Regions from separate parts of the Homo sapiens genome. Here regions 2 and 3 are each linked to region 1. Evidence: promoter capture Hi-C in 16 types of primary human blood cells and fetal thymus (Javierre and others, 2016). All regions are on one chromosome and are shown on one strand. The core of a region is centred on a gene start or on the middle of the fragment in contact, and the rest is flanking DNA. Distances in the headings are between cores, read along the strand shown. Region 1 holds the start of PLS3 (plastin 3). Region 2 holds the start of LOC107985681 (a long non-coding RNA gene). Region 3 has its middle 36 kb from the start of LUZP4.

What was found. Contacts are between HindIII fragments. The CHiCAGO score rates a contact against its expected background, and 5 or more counts as called.
Region 2: a contact is called between a fragment that was not itself captured here and the fragment with the promoter of PLS3 in region 1, in 1 of 17 cell types (endothelial precursors). The highest score is 9.2, in endothelial precursors.
Region 3: a fragment that was not itself captured here is called in contact with the fragment with the promoter of PLS3 in region 1 in 1 of 17 cell types (endothelial precursors); the score reaches 7.2 in endothelial precursors.

Annotation. Positions count from the first base shown.
Region 1 is chrX:115,559,269-115,563,484 of GRCh38, reverse strand. PLS3 (plastin 3) reads right to left here and starts at 2,311. Exons shown (of 16, transcript NM_005032.7): 1 at 2,225-2,311. It overlaps PLS3-AS1 (PLS3 antisense RNA 1), which reads left to right and starts at 754. Exons shown (of 3, transcript NR_110384.1): 1 at 754-859; 2 at 955-1,081. RefSeq lists an enhancer at 762-1,537. The HindIII fragment of the contact is 4,189 bases long and covers 1-4,135 here.
Region 2 is chrX:115,341,703-115,345,966 of GRCh38, reverse strand. LOC107985681 (a long non-coding RNA gene) reads right to left here and starts at 2,459. Exons shown (of 3, transcript XR_001755944.2): 1 at 1-2,459. RefSeq lists an enhancer at 401-900. The HindIII fragment of the contact is 3,106 bases long and covers 372-3,477 here.
Region 3 is chrX:115,323,614-115,328,453 of GRCh38, reverse strand. No RefSeq gene overlaps it. Among named protein-coding and RNA genes, the nearest start is that of LUZP4, 36 kb to the right of the region's middle. The HindIII fragment of the contact is 425 bases long and covers 1,484-1,908 here.

The sequences.
Region 1 (4,216 bases), core at 1,062-3,561:
ATAATCTGAATAGCCAAATTGCCACGTTTTCCCAGAAGCAACCTTAACTTGGGCCACTTGGGCGGGTATAGGTCAATATGGGAAAGTTGTTTCAGTGTCCTCTCATTATTCTACCAAACCACTGACAGGCAAAAACCCAACCAACTCGATGTATCAAATTTACTATCCACTGTTTTTGTGCATGATTTCTAATCCAGTTAATTGAAAACCACAAATAACTGGTGGTTAATTTTAGTCAAGAGGTTATTTACTACCTTTAAGTAGTTGCCTAAAATAGGGAACAGTTCAATTAGAATATAGGCCAGACCAAGGAAGATGAACAGAGCCTTACTTTTTAACACTATCTTGTGGGATTTAGCTTCAAATCTAGTATTCAGGGACAAAATGAGGCATGAGTAATAGGATGACTTCCCTAGAAAATAATTAGTAAGATGTTTTTTAAATTTAGAAAAACCATGAGATTGAAGAAGAGAGGAGATACATGTCCCAGCTCACATATATTTCAATCCCTTATTTTAAAAACAGCTCCTGTTTTTGTTTTGGATAAAAGCTGAGCACCAAATTCCCTTTCTGGTCCCCTCATCCAAAATCCTAGTAGACTTCCTTGATTAGAAGCTAGTTCACACTCCTCCCCACCTTTTTTTTTTTCAAACGTAGAGGTGGTTTTTGGAATATGGGCCTCAACCATTACATTCCAGCTTTAAAGTAAAAAGACGTCATGTGACCATCAGAGACTTGGGGCACGTGATTCCAACTGGTATGTGTGGGGCTCCAGCCACTTAGTTGGAATTCACCATGAACTGCATCTCGAGGATCAAGTTTAGGCTCCCCAGTCCATTGTGACATCCAGCAAAGTGGAGTAAGTGCTTGCCCCTCAATGGTTTTTACTTTTCCCTACATTTTCTACCTACTGTTAGCCAGGCTCCCTTCCCTCCTCCCAATCCCTCTTAACAGGCCGGGCGCCCCCAGCATCCCGTCTGTCTGACGCTAAATGGCGAGGCTCTCCAACCCACTTAGCTCCAAGCTCAACCTTCTGCAAAAGTTCAACCTTCTGCACCACTGGGGATATCGTGCAGCTCAGGTGAGAGGCAAGGAGCATCGCATAAGGCTAGAGTCAGATGCCATTAACCCCCACTCCACCTCCCGGGCTGGGATCATCTTACGTCCCGGAGCCCGGCGGTCGGAACCGCCAGCACACTGGAGCAGCGACGGCGGCAGCAACTTTGGGACTGGCGAGAAGCCAGGGCGGGGGTGGTCGGCGTCCCCGGGCCTCTCATTACAGCGCTTAAGTACTGCGGGTGGAGAAAAGTAAACACAGGCAAGTGCAGCTGTGCGGGGAAAGGGCGGGGGGGTAGACTATTACCTCCCTCCCGTCGCCCCTTTGCCTCTCCCTCTCCAAGAGTCGGGAGAGGTCCGGGACTGCCGCCGCCCCGACCGCGCGCCCGGGGCCGCAAAGTCAAAGGAGCTGAAAAAAGGACAGGGGGTGTGGGGCCAGGGGAGAACGGAAAGGTACTGTCCTACTAGCCCAGAGATGTTCTCCTACTGAAAGGAAAAAAAGTGCTTACTCATAGGGAGACTAGGTGCGTTCGCGACGCCCTCGCTAAGGACAAGGGAGGGAAGCAGGCAGAAGGCAGGCAACCCAAACCTCGTGCCTTCCCTCGGCCACGGCCCCCCCTCTCCAGAGCCCCAGGGTCGGCTTAAGCCAGCCAGGTCACCCGAGGCGGGCGTGTGGGGGCTGGAGGAGTAGCAGGCTGCTGGCTCCGGGATTTCCTGAGTCCGGGCGGGAGGGAAGAGGGGATGGCAGTAGCTGGAGAAGGACGACAGAGGGAAGTTGTGCGCTCCCTTTCCACTTCGGGGCCGCAGCCGCGGAGGGGAATCAGGGCAAGGGCTGGCGTCTAGGACTCCAGCCCAAGACTGGCAACAAGTTAAGAGCAACTAGTAAGAAAACACCACTTAATACAGTGAAGTGCAGAAAACGTGTCTGCGGCGGATGCTAGTAGGGAAACTCCCCGTCACTCACACCCATTTCGGTTGCGACCGATCGCCCGGGCGCCCGAGGGCTCCAACTGAAATTTCTCCGACCTCCCTCTCCCCCAACCCCCGCCCCACGGTGCGCCGCACGTTCCTGCTGAGCTTAACCGAGATGCTCTCCCCGGGACCCACTCCTGCCCACGCCCAGGAAACCCGCTCCCCTAGTGCCCGCCGGCGCCTACAAAGCACTTACGTAAAGTCGCAGAGTCCTGGGTCTGGCCCGACTGCCGCCGACCAACCCACTCAGACAACTTCTGCACCTCGGAATCTTTGCAGCTGTGGCTCTAAAGCCAGCGCTCCCTCCCCTCCTGCCAGCCCCCTCCGCCCCTCGGCCGCCGCCATTGGCTCGGGTGGTGCTAGCAGTCGGCCTGGGAACCAGGAAGGGGATTGGGCCACGAGCCTGTCACATCAACTGGGTGGGGATCCAGGAAAATAGGCACGGGGATGGGCACCCAGGAGGGATAGGGACTGCAACTCTGCTGCAGGGAGAGGAGAATGGTCCCCAGCGCCTGAGTCTCCCCTTCCTACTTGGGCTAAGAGGAAGTTAGAAGTCCAACGTGCCTGGCTCGGAGTACACATTCACACAATCTTGTGGGATTAATAAAAAGATGAAAAAGTTGGGAACAAGAATTTGAATGCCACCTATATAAGTCTATGGGGGAGGGGTACAGTTTCTCCCAGAATCGTGAGAAGAATAACGGCATGTTGGGGAACATTCCTAATTACATCTGCAACAATCAGTCCAGGTGCCAAAGGGTGCAGAGGGAAACATCAGCAATCATTCCTTTCCTTAAGAAGTCAAGGGAGAAGAATATGGGCAGGGCAGGGCCCTCAAGCCTTTGGCCTCATGCCAAGTAAATTGTTAGCCCACATCACCTGTCTGGTATGTTTGTCCATGCGGAGAGGGGTTGAGAGGAGGTGGTTGGAAGTACATTGGTTCCACTCTTTTGACCGGAAATGGGTATCAATTCTCATCAGTCTCCTTTCACCAGAGAAAATTTGGAGACATGTTACTACTCCCCAGACTGCCATTTCTTCTCCTTCTCTGCCCAGGAGATGGCTTCCACGTCATAGCTGACCTCTTTCATTAATACACGTGGAGGTTATCTGCATTCCAAACCTATGGTTCATCGTATATCCAAAATCAACTCAGAGAGCCAGAGTTTGAGGGATTTTGCAGGGTCAGGTCAAGAGACTGACTTGTGGGATAGCTGTAGAAGAAAAAGTCTAAGCCCTTTCCTGTTCCAGTCGTAACCATTTTGTTGAGGAAATGTGTGCTTGGAAAGTTCTGTCAACATTTAAAATTAGTTCAATTAAGTCGCATTTTACATGTACCAGGAAAAAATGCTGAGAGGCTTTAAAATGGAATGTTCTTGAAAAGGAACCCCTATTTCATCTGCCATTATGAATTTCCTTAGAGAAATTAATCCGTAGTGAGTGCCAAGGCTTCTTAAAAGGGAAGAACTTGGGGAGTTCATATATTGCCTAAAGGCTAGACTAGCAGAGGACTTGGCACGAGGAAAAAGCCTTGTTAAATATTAATTAATGATTAACCAACTGGAAGAACTTATGAAAGGCACAGGAAGGTGAAAAAGAAATGGGAGGGCAATCATGCTTTCACAAACATTGAATTTCTGTTATGGGAGATTTTCTACTGGTTCAGGTTTGGGCCAGCACAAAAATACTGATTTCAACATGTTGGCGTTGGATTGAACATGGAGCCAGTGCATTGCCACACACATTTACAGTAAGCTCCCAAATGAGATTTCTAGCATTCAGTAATTGGCCAAAGGTTTGGTGTGACTTCTGGAATTCTTTACAAAAAATTTTTAGATACAGGAAATAGGCTTTTTCAGTTTTCTACCTTTTATGGTGTCTGTCGGTCACCGCTGAAGAGCTTCCACCTGCTCTTAAACTTAAAATTACAGACTGAGCAATAGCATGAAGGGACTCTGTAAGCTAAATTTTCCAGTGCAGATATATTTGTCTCAATTACGTTGTATTCAATTTTAGTTTATTTTTCAAATTCTAGAATTTAAAGTAAAAATATTAAGAATCCTACGTATATGCTATTTACAGTTCCTGTTTTTAATTCAAAAAAGCTTACATTGGTCCGAGTAGGGTAGCTCACGCCTGTAATCCAGCACTTTGGGAGGCTGTGCAGTGGGAGGATTGCATGAGGCCA
Region 2 (4,264 bases), core at 675-3,174, 220 kb after region 1:
CTCTACTCTAGAAAGTTTTAGTCATAGGATTTCATCAAGGTTGTCAACACTCCTACGATTCAAATTGAGTCTAGAGTTTTATCCCAACATCTGGCTTTCAATTTCGGAATGTCTAGGTCATTCCTGCCTCTCAGAAAAGAATGTCTGTCCACTTGTCCATTCCCCGAGTGCTCTAGCTTAGTGCCTTTCCCCTCTGCCATTCTGACTTTCCAACAGGTAAACACAGTTCATGAACTTTAGCTTGCAGAGCAGAGGCTGTACCTGAGGTGACCCCAAAATTCATCCAAATATTCTATCCAAGGGCAGGCAAATGCTACATGGGAAATCACAAAGAGGAGGAAAAAAAGAGAGAGAAGAGACAAAATGAAGCTTTGACAAGCAGCTCAGCTGGGCCAGCCCCTTGGAAGGGAGCCAGCATTGGGAAAGCAGCAGCAGCTCTGGGTTTCACAGTCAGTCTGGAATGCACTTCAATACAGCCCAGCCTCCATCTCGTTAGAGGCCTAGTGTTTGATGATTCAGCTGCTTCCCGGCTGCCAGGAGAGATTTGGCCAACTGTTTGAAAAACACTGTCTGCCCTAGACCACACTTGTTTTTATTCTCTGCCTGTTGTCAGGGGCCTCTTCTGAAATGGAACACCTCAGGAAATCAGACCCAAACTCTGAAGAGTTGATGCTCCCTCTTGTGCCCCTTTTCAAAGGCAATTAAACCAACATAGGGATTGTTTGCAGCAAAGTGCTTTCCTAGTGATGTTGAAAGCAGACAATGTGTTACTAGGAAATGATCTCTCATTAGATCTCCTTTAGATCCAATGAAAAACATGGTGTGCTAGCAGACATATCAAACATTAAAGGCACAGCTGAGATCTGCCATTGCTGAACTCCCCATATATCAATTTGTTCAAAGATGCAGGTTAAAGGGTAATGGAGACAAGCATTCTGGGAAAGGATTGAGCAAGAGCCTCTGCTGTCAGCTGGACTCTTGAACCCTTCTGTTTGCTTCTGAGAAGTCTATTAGAGCTGCAGGCACAACTTTCTAACAAAGAAAGCTGACTCTCGAAGTGGACTGGGCTTCCTCACACAGAAACGAACATTTTACCTTAACATAGCTTAGCAGCTAAGAGGATGATCTTTGGAGTCAGAGTGCCTGAATTTGTAGCCCTGCTCCACCATTCATTAGTTCCGTGAACTTAAGACCTCTCTGTGCCTCACTTTCCTTACTGTAAAATGCGCCCAATAATAGCACCTTCTTTATAGAGTGTGAGATGCAGAGCCTAAAGTTGACATAGGTGAGTGTTTAGAATAGGGTCTACCATATAATAAGCCTTCCACAACAGCATTAACTATAATTATTATTATGCCCCTGAAGGCATTCTAGCTAACACCTCTCTTGTACCGTGTGGCAGAGTGATTGAGAACACAGCTCTTTTAGTAACACAGTCTTAGATTTGAATCACTTCCACCACTTACTAGCTGTTTAGGCTTGGTTAAAGTTACCTAACCTCTGTAAGCCTCAGTTTCTTCATCTGTAAAATGGGGATAATAATTGTACCTATGTCATAGGGCTGTTGTCAAGACTAATAAACTATGTAATAAACTTTAGCCAGGTGTGGTGGCACACACCTATATTCCCAGCTGCTTGGGAGACTGAGGCAGGGGGATTACCTGAGCCCAGGAGTTTGAGGTTGCAGTGAGCTATTATTTCATGCCACTGCACTCCAGCCTGGGTGAGAGTGGGACTCTAATAAGTAAATAAATAAAAATTTAAAATTAAACTATGTAATAGACTATGTAAAATGCTTAATGCAGTGGCTGGTCCATAGTAAGTACTCAATAAATGATAACTGATAATATAATATGCCTAAAATTCCATAGTTCTGGAAACCTCATATCTGTTTTTTCTCCTAGTTTTGCCTCTATGTTCATACTGAATAATAAACATTCAGTGTCTGCCTTTCCTTATTTGCAAAAAAAAAAAAAAAAAAAGCAACAATGTCTTCATTAACTCTTTGCTCAGGAGGAAGCAGAGTTACCCAAGAGGGCAGGAAGTGGAAAATGGGACTCCTGTCTCTTCAACCCTGAGATGCTTCCATGCTCTCAATAGTCACTTGCGCTAATCAGCTGAAAAGGGAACCAACTGGAAGCAAAACCAGAGTAAATTGACAATTACCAAACTCTTTCTTTTTATGAAAATGCTTGGTTATTTGTCAGACTTTTGGTCTATTCAGTATTTCTCAGTGTATTCTTTATTCCTCTTGTATGGTGTGACAACCTGGGTGGGAAGGGTAACAAGGAAGAGAAACAAATCCCTGGCCTTCAAAACCTCTCCTGTTGCTTGGCATGGAAAGTGGGCTTTCCGGAGAAGATAGTGTGACCCTGTTGAAACGAGAAGCCCATCTAAACGGTTGTAATGGCTCTGTACTCCTCTCATGCTCCAGCCTGTTCCTCAGCTGGGAAACATGATTTAGAAAAAATCCACGTTGCCCCCTTTCTCTTGTACTTGCTGTGTGAACATGCAAAAGGTCTCATATTCTCCCTTGTTTTTCAAGCAATACATATATTGAGATTGAAGAGGACAGCATTGCTCTAGCTTTATTCTGGAATACGAAAAGAAACTAGATCCGAATCAACAGATTCTCAGAGAGTGATTTAATGTGTCACTGGAGCACTTATCTCCATAGCATCGTCACTTGACTTTTTGCCCAAATTTACAGAATTGCACATGTAAATCCCTGCGTGGAATACCCTTCATGTGGCTGTGCTTCTGCAAAGTCCACACTAACTCTCTCTTTTCTCTTTGATGCAGTGGCTGGCCCATAGCAAATATCATTGATTTCTAGCATGGTTTCAAAGGAGCTTCCAGAGATTTCCTGATATCTAATTAATTTCACCCTTCTCAGGCTCTTCTCAACTCTCTTGTCCTCATCCCGTCATCTCAGAATTCTTCACCAGAACTGAGAAGGTAGATACACAGATGGTTAGCCCCTTTTGGAAGCCTTGTCTTGCTCTGTACAGACACAGTCATTAGCGAACCACTCTTTTATTAATTTTCAAGAAGGAAAAACATACGCAGATGCCATTTTATATTACTGTTTAAGCATGTTAAAATATTATAAAGTGGGTTCTAGGCATTTTAACAGCAAAAGGCAGTGAAGGATATTTTAATAGTCACTATAAATAGCAGCCCATTGTACTACAATTATTAAGAGTTAATTATTGGGTGCAACAGAATATGGAACAGACTATTGTGCCAGGAAGTGTTCTCCAAGAGTCTATTTTATTTTATTTTTTAAATTTATTTTTAAATTTCAGTAGAGATGGAGTTTCGCCATGTTGCCCAGGCTGGTCTTGAACTCCTGAGCTCAAGCGATCCTCCCACTTCGACCTCCCAAAGTGCTGGGATTACAGGCATGAGCCACTGCAAAAGGCCAAGAGTCAATTTTAAAAACCAATCTGGGGTGCAAAGTAAAAAAGCAAAGCTTGCTGGGCTGTGGTGGAAACCTGTTGGCAATGGTGTAAAATAGAGCAAGGCATATCTGGACAGAGTCTTCATGGATGGTCACACTTTGTCCACGTAGGGCGAGAGAAGACAAAGAAATTGGTTCTCGAAGGTAAAGTGTTCTCTCTCTCAGCTCTGTAGGCCCAAAACCTTGAGAGTCCACTTACCCATGGATGATTGAGCCTCAGAATGGCTTATACTATTCCTAATCTGAACTGCACCAAAATCTAAGCCTGAACACCCTGTTTTCTGCACAGGCCCCATCTCCTTGGTCAGGAAGTCCATTTAGAGAAACAACATACTGTCTAGATTTTATATTGTGGTATAATTAAATGACATGAAGTCAGAATAGACCAGGTGCAGTGGCTCACACCTGTAATCCCAGCACTTTGCGAGACTGAAGCTGGTGGATCGCTTGAGCCCAGGAGTTCGAGATCAGCCTGGGCAACATAGTGAAACCTTGTCTCTACAAAAAAAATACAAAAATTAACTGGTCGTGGTGGCACACACCTGTAGTCCTAGCTACTTGCGAGGCTGAAGTGGGAGGATCGATTGAGCTCGGGAGGTGGAGGTTGCAGTGAGCTGAGGTCCCCCTACTGCACCCTAGCCCAAGTGACAGAGTGAGAACCTGTCTCAAAAAAAAAAAAAAAAAAAAATCAGAATAATGGAACTAAGAGGTCTTTTCATCTTCCTAATGGAACAACCTCTACCACCTAAATATTTTTTGTCAGACTTCTGCCCAGTTATCAGAAGTCAGAACATCCTCTCT
Region 3 (4,840 bases), core at 447-2,946, 230 kb after region 1:
GAGTATTAGAGTGGGGATATAGTAGACAGGAGAGAGGGAGGGAGTTTGGCACATTAAAAAGTAAGAAGCAGAAAGACTGATGGATGGAGAGATGGAGACAAGGGGTAAGCACTATAATTTCACCTGATCTTGGGCAGGAGTTTTAACTACCACTAAGAAGTAAGATCCCGCATAATCTCAAATTTTAGTATACATCAAAATTTTCTGGAGGGTTTGTTAAAACACAGATTTCTGGGACCCACACCCAGAGGTTTTGATTCAATAGGTCTGAGGTGAAGCCTGAGAATTTGCAGGTTCCCAGGTGAGGCTGAGAATGCTGGTTTGAAGACCACACACAGAAAATTCATGCTATGATTGGTGCCAAATGAGGCAAAAATGGAAAGTTCAGTCAGCCTGTTTCTTTGTTCTGTTCACATACTGCCAAACAGCTAGACTGCACATCTCTCGGCATTGTCCAACTGATTGTTATGACAATGTTGTACTTCTGATGTTATTCAAGGCAGAGAGGGAGAGGTTTGTGACTTATATAGCTGCTGTTTCATATGGGGGAAAAACCATTTGAAGCTTGGGAAATATTGCTGGGCTCATTGCCTTATGCTGTTGCTTTTTCTTCTTGCTTTTTTTTTTTTTTTTTTGAGACAGTTTCTCGCTCTGTCGCCCAGACTGGAGTGCAGTGGCGCCACTCACTGCAGCCTCCACCTTCCAGGCTCAGATGATTCTCTCACTTCAGCCTCCCGAGTAGCTGGGATTGCAGGTGCACACCGCCCCACTTGGCTATTATTTCTGTAGAGACAGGGTTTCTCCATGTTGCCCGGGCTGGTCTGGAACTCCTGGGCTCCAGCAATCTACATGCCTTGGCCTCCCAAAGTGCTGGGATTATAGGTATGAGTCACTGCGCCTGGCCATACTGTTGCTCCTTACCCTAATTACCCATTAGCAAGCAAGACATTGAAAGCAATGTATCCATCCCATATTCTTTGTAAATGAGATTATGAGAAAACAAGCCTTTTAGTATTCTGGTAGTGGGGATGTCAAATGGTACAACCTTTCTGTACAGCAACTTCTTTGTAGCATTCCAAATATGTACTATTTGATCCAGCAATTTTACTTCTGGAAAATTATCATATGTAATGAATTGAAGAGGTACTGCAAATATATAAGTACACGAAAACTCACCACAAGCATAATTTACAAAAACTTAAACTGAAAACGGCCTAACTATCCAGCAATGGGGAACTGGATAAATAGTGTAGAAAGCTTTACTGTGGAAGAAGGCTTAGTGGCAGTAAAATAAATACGGACGTAGCTATTACAAGTTTGCATGTGTGTGTGTGTGTGTGTGTGTGTGTGCGTGTGTGTGTGTGTGTGATAATTTTTGGTATTTTGTATTTTGAAAAATTTCTGCAATTAACCTGTATTATTTTTGTGATATGAAGAAACATTCTCTCTCCAAATCATTTGCCACAAATTACATTAGGAAGCTTCATGCACATTGGGCAACAGAGTGAGACCACGTCTCAAAAAAAAAAAAGTATACAAGAAGATGTGTATAGCTTATATGCAATTACTATGTTATTTCATATCAGGGACCTGAGGACCCATGGTTTTGGTATCCACTGGGGTCCTGGAGTTAATCCCCCACAGATACCGAGGGACAAATATAGTATATTGGACTAAATCCACGTTCAACTTGAAGTTCGTTTTAAAAATAAATAATTGAAGTTGGCTTATTTCTTTGACCTTTGTATCCTTCATGAAGGTGCAGTACAGGAAGAGACTCTTTGTGAATTAAGGGCTCCAGGTAGAATCTAGTTAACTGCATTTTTTTCTGATACATAAAAGATACCTTTTTATACATCAAGTAGTCCTAAAACAGACATGAATTCTTTAATATCACGTGAACAAGCTTATTGTGCAATTCTATTACACTCACGTGATTATCCATTGCTTGAAAGTTGAATTTCAAGTATATTCCTCTGGGCTGGTGCAGAAAACTCTTGGTTGTAGTATATTTTGTCCTTAGGAGTAAAGTTTTAACCCTATATCTCACATTTGTGTCACTTAAGCATAATAATTAGTAAAGATATATTTGTCAGCCACTAATTAGATGAGCAACTTTGGGCCATTCAACTTCATGTAAGTCTCATTAACACCAGCTGTAAAATGAAGAAGGTATATCCAAGAATCTTCAAGCTCCCTTTTTAGTAGTTAGGTTCCAAGTTCTGAATCAGGGAGTATTAGTGCAGCATTCAGAAGGATTGTAAACATGCATTAATCTAGTCTTTTTTTAATCATTACATCAAAATATCTAGGTGAGTTTTTCTACCGTTTATCTTTTTTAAAAATTGCATGCATGCATTAATCTAGTCTTTTTTATATTGTTACTTCAAAATCCCTAGATGAGTTTTTCTACTGTTTATTTTAAAAAATTTCTTCTTCTTCCTGGGCTCAGGTGATCCTCCCACCTCAGCCTCCCAAGTAGCTGGTACTACAGTACCTGCCACCACACCCAGCTAATTTTTTGTATCTTTGTTTGTAGAGACGGGGGTCTCACTCTGTTGCCCAGGCTGGACTCGAACTCCTGGGCTCAAGTGATCAGCCTATCTTGGCCTCCCACAGTGCTGGGATAATAGGTGTGAGCCACCCTGCCCAGATTCTACTGTTTAAATGCCAAATCAATCTCACTATTTTTAAAGTATAGTTATCCCTATATGCATTTTGGAACAAAAGTAGCTACAGCCTTCATATAGAGAAAAAAAATGGATTCATGGTTGCCTTGGGCTGTGAGAAGGGGGGGAAAGGAGGGAAAGGGGGAGTGACTATTAATGGGTACAGAGTTTCTTTGGGGGACATTAAAAATGTTCTAAAATTAGACTATAGTATTGGTTGCACACTCTGTTAATATACTAACTGAACCGTATACTTTAACGTGGCGAACCTTATAGTATAAGAATTATATCTCAATAAACTTGTTACCAAAAAAGTAGCTGGAGCACATGGCTACATAGCAGTTAATATGAAAAGCAGCTCAGTTATCCAAAATTTCCTTCTGCCACATTGTAGAGGCATGTTCTACACGAGGACTCCTGAAAGGCTGCTAGTGGGGCCTGGTTCTTACTTTGTCTTACTAAAACAGCTCTTCACATAAATAAACAGTACAGAAGAGTTTTATTTTCTTTTCATTCTTTTTTTTTTTTTTGAGACATTAAGACAAGGTCTCATTCCAGTATCATAGCTCATTGCATTCTCACCTTCCCTGGCTCAGTTGATTCTCCCACCTCAGCCTCCCAAGTAGCTGGGACTACAGGCACACGTCACCACAGCCCGCTAATGTTTTGTATTTTTAGTAGAGACGGGATTTGACCATGTTACTCAGCTGGTCTCAAACTCCTGGGCACGAGCAATCAGCCCACCTTGGGATCCCAAAGTGTTGGGATTACAGGCATGAGCCATAGGACCTGGCTGAAGACTTTTTTTTAATGGGTAGTTAGATATTTCAAGGGAATATGTTTATCACATGTAGTCACATTCTGTTAGAGGTAAAATACAACAAAAGCCCAAATGCTGTGTGGTGATTCTGACATTGTCAGTTGAGTTGCTGTACTTAGTAGTCCAAATAAATCAGGTATTTTTTTCTCAGTTTTTTTTTTTTAGTCTGGTTATAAATGTTTTTCCTACCATGACCCAACTGGACCAAAAACTGTTTATTTTGGGGAAAAGGGAGAGAATGCTCTGAGTAATTAGTTTCCTAATTGTTTTTCAGTTGTAATTTCGCTTTTTCTTTATTTTCTTTAACAACATACATCTGGGTTGGCCTAATCTAATCATATGATAAAAGCAAAAGGGAGCAAAAGAATAAGTCAGAATGATTCAAAGAGTGAGAAGGACATAACCTTCTTTTGCTGGTTTAAAGATGGAGGGAATTCAAGCTGCCTCTAGAAGCAGAGTGCCGCTGGCTGACAGCCAGCAAGGAAACGGGAACCTCATTCTCACAATCCCAAGCAACTGAAATCTGCCAACAACTAGAAGGAGCTTGGAAGCAGATTTTTCCCCAGAACTTCCAAGTTAGAGGGCAGCCTGGCTAGCATCTTGATTTTGTCAGAGGCGTTTGAATCATCTTGAATAGGGGCTGGGTAAAATAAGGCTGAGACCTACCTGGCTGCATTCCCAGATGGTTAGGCATTCTAAGTCACAGGGTGAGATAGGAGGTTGGCACAAGATACAGATCAAAAAGACCTTGCTGATAAAACAGTTTACAGTAAAGCAGCTGGCCAAAACCCACCAAAACCAAGATGGTGACAAGAGTGACCTGTAGTCATCCTTACTTCTACACTCCCACCAGATCCATGACAGTTTACAAATGCCATGGCAACATCAAGAAATACCCTATATGGTCTTAAAAGGGGAGGGATGAATAATCCACCCATTCTTTGGCATATAATCAAAAAATAACCATAATAATGGGCAACCAGCAGCCCTCAGGTCTGCCCTGCCTATGGAGTAGCCATTCTTTATTCCTTTACTTTCTTAATAAACTTGCTTTCACTTTATGAATTTGCCTTGAATTCTTTCTTGCATGAGATCCAAGAACCCTGTCTTGGGATCTGGATCGGGACCCCTTTCAGGTGACAATTTCAGCTCTATGGAACCCTAGGGAGAGAACTAGCCAAGCATGCCTGGACATCTGACCTATAGAACTGCGAGATAATGAATGGGTGCTATTTTAAGCTGCTTTTTGTGGTAATTTTTGTTTTGCTTTGTTTTGTTTTTGAGACAGGGTCTCTGTTGCCCAGGCTGGAGTGCAGTGGCATGATCTCAGCTCACTGCAACCTCCGCCTCT